2 separate regions of the Homo sapiens genome follow, and region 1 is linked to region 2. Evidence: promoter capture Hi-C in 16 types of primary human blood cells and fetal thymus (Javierre and others, 2016). All regions are on one chromosome and are shown on one strand. The core of a region is centred on a gene start or on the middle of the fragment in contact, and the rest is flanking DNA. Distances in the headings are between cores, read along the strand shown.

Region 1 (3,674 bases), core at 548-3,047, 380 kb before region 2:
GTATAGCAGTGAAAATAAGTGAATTAGAGCTATACACGTTTCCACATAGATAAATCTCAAAAGCATTACACTGGATTAAAAAAAGCAAGTTTCAGAAGGCAGGACCCAGTGCCACCTTAGTGCCAGCTCTGTCAGGATACACCCAGTATGATCCTGCTATCAGAGGTCCCCAAGACCACCCTGAGGTTCAATGACTCACTAAGAGGAGTCACAGGATTTTGCTTGGAAGCGTAGGCATGGCTGTGATTTATGATAGTGAAGAGACACAAGGCACAATCAGCAAAGGGAAAAGATGCAGGAGCTGAAGTCCAGAGGAAACCAGGACAAGCTTCTAAGAGTCCTCTCCTAGTGGAGTCACACAGGACTCCATCAATTCCTACCGCCAAGTATGACAGCACGACGGATAGGCGGTCTACCAGGGAAGCTCATTACTCAGTGACCAGAGTTGTACTTGGGGGTGGTCGTGTACCAAAATGCCAGACTCCAGAAGGAGAGCAGGTGTTCAACATGAACCACATTGTTGGTGGAAACAGTTTAGGCACTCATCATTTGGGGAACGGCAGGAACCCTCCTGAAATCCAAGTTCCTAGATATCAGCCAAGGGCCAATCTTGCAAACAGGTCTTTCTAAGGATAGCAGTCTCAGGCCTGCTAGGTTAACTCTAAATTGCGCAGACACCATTTATATAAAAGTATAGAACATGACAAACAATACTATATATTGTTTAAAGATACACGCCGATATGCACAGAAGACTGTAAACACCAAATTCAGGGTTGTGGTTACATGTGAGGAAAAAGGAAGAGGAATGGGTTTGATGTAGGGGTATAGGGCCCTTCAGTTGCATCTCTAATGTTTTAGCTGTTAAGCTGGGTAACAGTATTTTGCTATAGCACTTCTTATACTTTCTCGAGCATGTGTGCACCTGAAGTATTAAACAAGAATGAAGACGTATCTGCTTATTACTATATGCTACTAACAGTTCAGTCTTTTGTTTGTTTTTAGACAGGGTCTCACTCTGTTGCCTAGCTAAGCTGGAGTGCAGTGGTGAGATCTTGGTTCACTGCAACCTCTGCCCCCAGGGCTCAAGCAATCCTCTCACCTCAGCCTCCTGAGTAGCTGGGACCACAGGCACATGCCACCACACCCGGCTAATTTTTTTATGTTTTGTAGAGACAGGGTTTTGCCCAGGCTGGTCTCGAACTCCTGAGGTCAAGCAATCTACCCGCCTCAGCCTCCCAAAGTGCTGGGATTACAGGCGTGAGCCACTGCACCTGGCTGGTTCATGTTTATTGAGTACTTTTCACATTCCAGGTACTATGCTAAACCCACCCTTTACATAGATTTATTCTTTTTTTTTTTGAGACGGAGTCTTCCTCTGTCACCAGACTGGAGTGCAGTGGTGCAATCTAGGCTCACTGCAACCTCCACCTCCCAGGTTCAAGCAATTCCCCTGCCTCAGCCTCCCAAGTAGCTAGGACTACAGGTACGCACCACCACGGCTGGCTAATTTTTTGTATTTTAGTAGAGACAGGTTTTAATCATGTTTGCCATGATGGTCTCGATCTCCTGACCTGGTAATCCGCCCACCTCGGCCTCCCAGAGTGTGTGACTCACTGCGCCCAGCCAGATTTATTCTTTTTGAAAAATTGATTGAGGACTTTCTATGAGCCACGTCCTCTGCTAAGCTCTGGAAGTACAACATTGAGAGGTGTGAGCTAGGCGAGATCTCTTCTCACAACCAGCTTTCAATCTACTGAGGGATGATGAGATAATAAGCACAATTTAAAACCAAAATAAGTAGAAATTCTTTTTTTCTTTTTAAGATGGAATCTCTCTCAGTTGCCCAGGCTTGAGTGCAGTGGCGTGATCTCGGCTCATTGCAGCCTCTGCCTCCCCGGTTCAAGCAATTCTTCTGCCTCCTGAGCAGCTGGGACTACAGGCACGTGCCACCACGCCCAGCTAATTTATTTATTTATTTATTTATTTATTTTGTATTTTTTTTTTTTAGTAGAAACGGGGTCTTGCCATGTTGGCCAGGCTGGTCTCGAACTCCTGACCTCAAGTGACCGGCCCGCCTTGGCCTCCTAAAGTGCTGGGATTATAGGTGTGAGCCACCATGCCCACCCGAAAATAAGTACAAATTCTGATATGCGTTACTAAGATCATAAAACTGAGTGATGTGATTAAGAAAAAGCTACTTTATTTATTTATTTATTTTTTTTGACACGGAGTCTTGCTCTGTCACCCAGGCTGGATTGCAGAGGCACGATCTCAGCTCACTGCAACCCTCACCTCTCAGATTCAAGCGATTCACCTGCCTCAGCCTCCCAAGTAGCTGGGACTACAGGCGCCCGCCACCACGCCCGGCTAATTTTTTGTATTTTTAGTAGAGATGCGGTTTCACCATGTTAGCCAGGATGGTCTCGATCTCCTGACCTCGTGATCCGCCTGCCTTGGCCTCCCAAAGTGCTGGGATTACAGGCATGAGCCACCGCGCCCGGCCAAGAAAGTGCTACTTTAAATAGGGTACTCTGGGAAGTCTTCTTTCAGAGGACATTTGAGCTGAACCACAAGCGAAGAGAAAGAGACAGCCATGCAATTATCTGGAGGAAGCACATTCCAGGCAGAGGGAACGGCAAGTGCAAAGCCCTGCGGCAGAAATAAGCTGGGTGTGTTGAAAGAAGGGAAATAAAGCCAGCTGGGCTTGAGAGCGGTGACAAGAGGAAGAATGGTAGATGAGGCCTGAGAGGTCAGCTGAGGCCACCACGCAGGGCCGCCTAAGCCATAGGAAAGATCTTAGGTTTCATTCTAAGTAGGATAAGCCTCTGAAGGTTTTAAGCAGAGTAATGACATGATCTGGTTTACAAGTGAAGATCATTCAGCCAGCTGTAAGGAGAATGCATCATAGACAGGGCCACATTCTTCATTAGCGCCACGGAAATAATGCTGGTGGATCATGAGCTTCTCAGGGGCTACGAAAAGGTCAGGGACAGGGATAAAGGGAAAAAAGTTCCACAATGCAAAGAGAAAACTACAAAGTTGGAATGAATAAATGTTTAATTAAGCATCTAGAAATGTGACATCATGACAACTGCATTAATCATTAAATTTAGTATTCATAAGCAATCGAATTACATTTGGAAATTAGATTTTCTCAAATCACAAATATCCCTAAGTATGCAATGATTGCCAAGAAATCAAGCGAATCATAAATGTGAGTTTCCTTGAAGCCAAATAATTTCAAAAGAATAAAAACAAAGCTTTCGATTTTTTAACAGCTAAAAAGAATTTTTCTTAACTTAATGTGAGATGTAGATACCAAAAATGGGCTAGGCGCTGTAATCCCAGCACTTAAGGACAAGATAGGTGGACTGCTTGAGGCCAGGAGTTTCAAGACCAGCCTGGGCAACAGCGAGACCCTGTCTCTACAAAAAATTTAAAAAGTATAAGAGGCAGGGCACGGTGGCTCATGCCTGTAATCTCAGCACTTTGGGCGGCCGAGGTGAGTGGATCACCTGAGGTCAGGAGTTTGAGACCAGCCTGGCCAACATAGTGAAACCCCATCTTTACTAAAAATACAAAAATTAGCTGGGTAAGGTAGCGTGTGCCTGTAGTCCCAGCTACTCGGGAGGCTGAGGTGGGAGAATCGCTTGAAGCTGGAAGCAGGAGGTT
Region 2 (3,549 bases), core at 44-2,543:
GGGCCACCGAAGTGTCACTCCGTTCATTCATGCAAAGACATGTTTACCAAGCAGTTCCGGTATGACCCAGCAGTAAACAAGACAAAAATCTCTGCTCCTGTGGAGTTGACACTGGGGTGAGTGAGCCAGCTGATGAAGAGATAATAAAATGAAGGAAAAGCCGGCAGAATCAGGCAACAGAGAGCAGCGGGTGAGCTGGATCATATAGAATGGTGGAGGAGGGCGCTATGGATACCTGGCCCGCACCAATGGCACGTGCAAAGGCTGTAAGGCAGGCTCGAGCTTGGTGGGGTAAAGTGACATTGCAGGGAGGGCTGGAGCAGAAAGGAAGTGGGGGGAAAAAGATGGCAGGAAGGGGACCAGGACAGGAAAAAAAGTTCCTCAAAAGCAGAAACCAAGAGAACACGGAGATACTAAAAAGGGCCTCCAAGGGCGGATAAGGGGCTGCGTGTATTCAGGGGAGGCACGATTAAGGAGTTAGGTTTCAGGGCCAGGCTGCCCAGGCTAGACTCTGGGCCCCATCTGTGGGGCCCTGGACAAGGGACTTAAGGTCGCCGTGCCTCAGTCTCCCCATCTGTGGGGCCCTGGACAAGGGACTTAAGGTCGCCGTGCCTCAGTTTCCCCATCTGTATAGTGGGTCACTGTACTTAAAAAGAGTCAATATAATTCCTGCTCAGCGCCGTGCCTGGTACCAGATCCCCGTACCTCTCCCGGACCGCCTCTTCCGTAGCGCCCTCCCGTTCGGCCTCCCGGGCTGCAACATCAGCCAGGTCGCGGGCGGCGCGGGCCATGTTGACAGCGGTGGGCCGGGCGGTGACGAGGAAGCTCAGCTTGTCGCGCACGAAGGCCACGAGCGCGGCGAGTCCCGGTCCCCCGGCGCCCGCCTGCAGCTCCACGGCGAGGCTGAGACAGCCCACCAGGGCTATGGCCGGGGCGCCCCGCACCTGCGGGGCAGGGATTTGGGCGTCGGAAGCTGCAGGCGCGGGCGCACTCCCACCTCCAACCCGGCCGCCCCGCCGCCCCGCCGCCCCGCCGCCCCGCCGCCCCGCCGCCCCGCCGCCCCGCCGCCCCGCCGCCCCGCCGCCCCGCTGCACCTTCATGGCGCGGATGGCCTCCCAGGCCTGGTGCACCGAGCCCACCGCCTCGTAGCGGCTCTGCTTGGGCAGCAGCAGCTGGTCTAGGATCTGCAGGGAGCCCCGCGAGTAGCGGATCGCCTCCAGGGTCATGGTGCAGCAGCCAAGCCCAGCGCAACTCAGAGGGAGCTAGGGGTCCGCGCGCACTTGGGAGCGGGGCGGGGCCGTGGGCGGAGCCTCCCCCGGAAAAAGAGACACGCACATGCGCATCCAACCCGATTCCACGGGTTCCCAGGAGGCGGATTCCACGGGTTCCCAGGAGGCGGATTCCACGGGTTCCCAGGAGGCGGATTCCACGGGTTCCCAGGAGGCGGATTCCACGGGTTCCCAGGAGGCGGATTCCACGGGTTCCCAGGACGCGGATTCCACGGGTTCCCAGGACGCGGATTCCACGTGGCCGAACCCACTCCACGACTCCTGCCAAGCCCGAACGGAGTGAGCCGCCTCCTCGGAACCACAAAAGTGGCAGCATTTATGGGACGCCTAGTGGATACCAGGCCCCGTGTTTAACAACCTGCTGTCTAGAGTTAGGGATGTATCCCCAGTGGCAAGGTAACATCAAGTGTTCAAACCAAAGAATTTGTTAAATGATCTTCCAAGGTTGAGGGGGAGGTAGTGGGGGGTCGTGTGCCCCTTGATGGATGCAAGGCTGTTTCTGGGCCATTTTCTGCTCGGTTTCATTCAAAAGTAACATGCAGGACAGGCGCTGTGGCTCACGCCTGGAATCCCAGCATTTTGGGAGGCCGAGTCGGGCAGATCACTTGAGGTCAGGAGTTCGAGACCAGCCTGGCCAACATGGTGAAACCCAGTCTCTACTAAAAATACAAAAAATTAGCTGGGCGTGGTGGCGCACACCCGTAGTCCCAGCTGCTCGGGAGGCTGAGGCAGAAGAATCACTTGAACCCAGGAGGCAGAGGTTGCAGTGAGCCGAGATCGCGCCACTGCACTCCAGCCTGGGTGACAGAGCAAGACTCGGTCTCAAAAACAAAACAAAAAAACCCCAAAAGTAACATGCACGGGGGGCTTTTCCATGGGCCACCCCTGGGCTGGGTATAATAAAAAGCTCACACCTGTGTGCTCCAGCCCCTGCTGCATCTGGCACACATCCTGGGTACCCCGTGTGCCTTGTCCCTGGCCTTGTGTGTGTGGTTCCTGGCCCCCTTTTCACCCTTCACACTTGGCCCATGCCTCCTCCTCCAGGAAGTCTGTCCTGATTCCTGGCCAACCGGGACCACCACCTTGAGACTCTTGTTACTCTGGAAGGGGACCATGTCTGTGGTCACAGCTATGACCCTATACCAGCATTTGCTGATGAGAGGCCTACCAAGCTTGGTCAAGGTGGGGGGGTGGGGGGGCAGCCCCAGGGTCCATCTAACAACCCAAGACAGGGAAGAAGAGACAGGTCTTTAATGTACGGAGTCTCACAAGGCACAAACACCCTCACCAGGACCAAATAAATAACTCCACGGTTGCAGGAAGGCGCGGTCTGGGGAGGATGCGGCATCTGAGCTCTCCCAGGGCTGGTGGGCGAGCCGGGGGTCTGCAGTCTGTGAGGGGCCTCCTGGGTGTGTCCGGGCCTCTAGAGCGGGTCCAGTCTCCAGGATGGGGATCGCTCACTCACTCTCCGAGTCGGAGTAGTCCGCCACGAGGGAGGAGCCGAGACTGCAGGGGTGCCGCGTGTCGGGGGTGTCAGCTGCCTCCTGGGAGGAGCCTGCTGGCGACAGGGGCTTGTCCTGACGGCTCCCTTCCTGCCCCCTCGGGCTGCTGCACTTGGGGGTCTCAGTTGTTTCCGGAGGACAGTCTCCGGGGGACATGGGCCGGTCCTGGGCAGCCTCCTCTGGTACCCGCGGTTCCCCAGACTTGGGGGTGTCGGCCGCATGCTGGGGGCTCTCCGGGACGTCCCGAGACCTCCGCCGCACGATGCCCAGGTCCCCGACGGTGATGGGGGAGGTGGCAAGCGCGGTTCTGCGGCTCTGTGCCAGCTTCTTCAGGACGCCGCTGACCTTGCTGCTGGAGGCGGATCCGGGGGCAGAGGGGAACCAGGAGCGGCTGATGATCTCGGTCCGCTTGAGTTTCTGCTTGTCCTCGTAGGCTAGAGGAGAGGAGAGGACATTTCAGGGGCGGCAGGGGAGGGGGTCCAGAACTGCCCTCTGGTAGACCAGAGTCCACTCATGGCTGAGGACCCCCCATCTCCAGGCAACTCTGAGCCTCCCTGTCCCCTTTTCCCCCTGGCCTCCTACGCACAGTCCAGGGTGTGGAACTTCAGCAGAGCCGCCAGCTTGCGGTCATCTTCCGTCTCGGGCACCAGCGGGATGGTCAGGCTCGCCTTGGCCTGCAAGGCCTGGTCTCTCTCCTCCTCCTCCTGGATGGCTTTTTTCTTTTCCTGTGTTGAGGGCCAAGAACACCAGAGATAGGG

The links. Contacts are between HindIII fragments. The CHiCAGO score rates a contact against its expected background, and 5 or more counts as called.
Region 1: a fragment that was not itself captured here is called in contact with the fragment with the promoter of MRI1 in region 2 in 3 of 17 cell types (neutrophils, naive CD8 T cells and non-activated CD4 T cells); the score reaches 6.0 in neutrophils.

What each region holds. Positions count from the first base shown.
Region 1 is chr19:14,139,161-14,142,834 of GRCh38, reverse strand. All of the region lies in intron 1 of ADGRL1-AS1 (ADGRL1 antisense RNA 1), which reads right to left. Among named protein-coding and RNA genes, the nearest start is that of ADGRL1-AS1, 3.8 kb to the right of the region's middle. The HindIII fragment of the contact is 2,934 bases long and covers 331-3,264 here.
Region 2 is chr19:13,762,266-13,765,814 of GRCh38, reverse strand. It overlaps MRI1 (methylthioribose-1-phosphate isomerase 1), which reads right to left and starts at 1,293. Exons shown (of 6, transcript NM_001031727.4): 1 at 1,095-1,293; 2 at 706-944. The coding sequence starts at 1,226. It overlaps YJU2B (YJU2 splicing factor homolog B), which reads right to left. Exons shown (of 10, transcript NM_030818.4): 9 at 3,378-3,516; 10 at 2,526-3,225. The coding sequence ends at 2,747. RefSeq lists enhancers at 1-96, 2,566-3,082 and a silencer at 874-923. The HindIII fragment of the contact is 24,803 bases long and covers 1-2,463 here.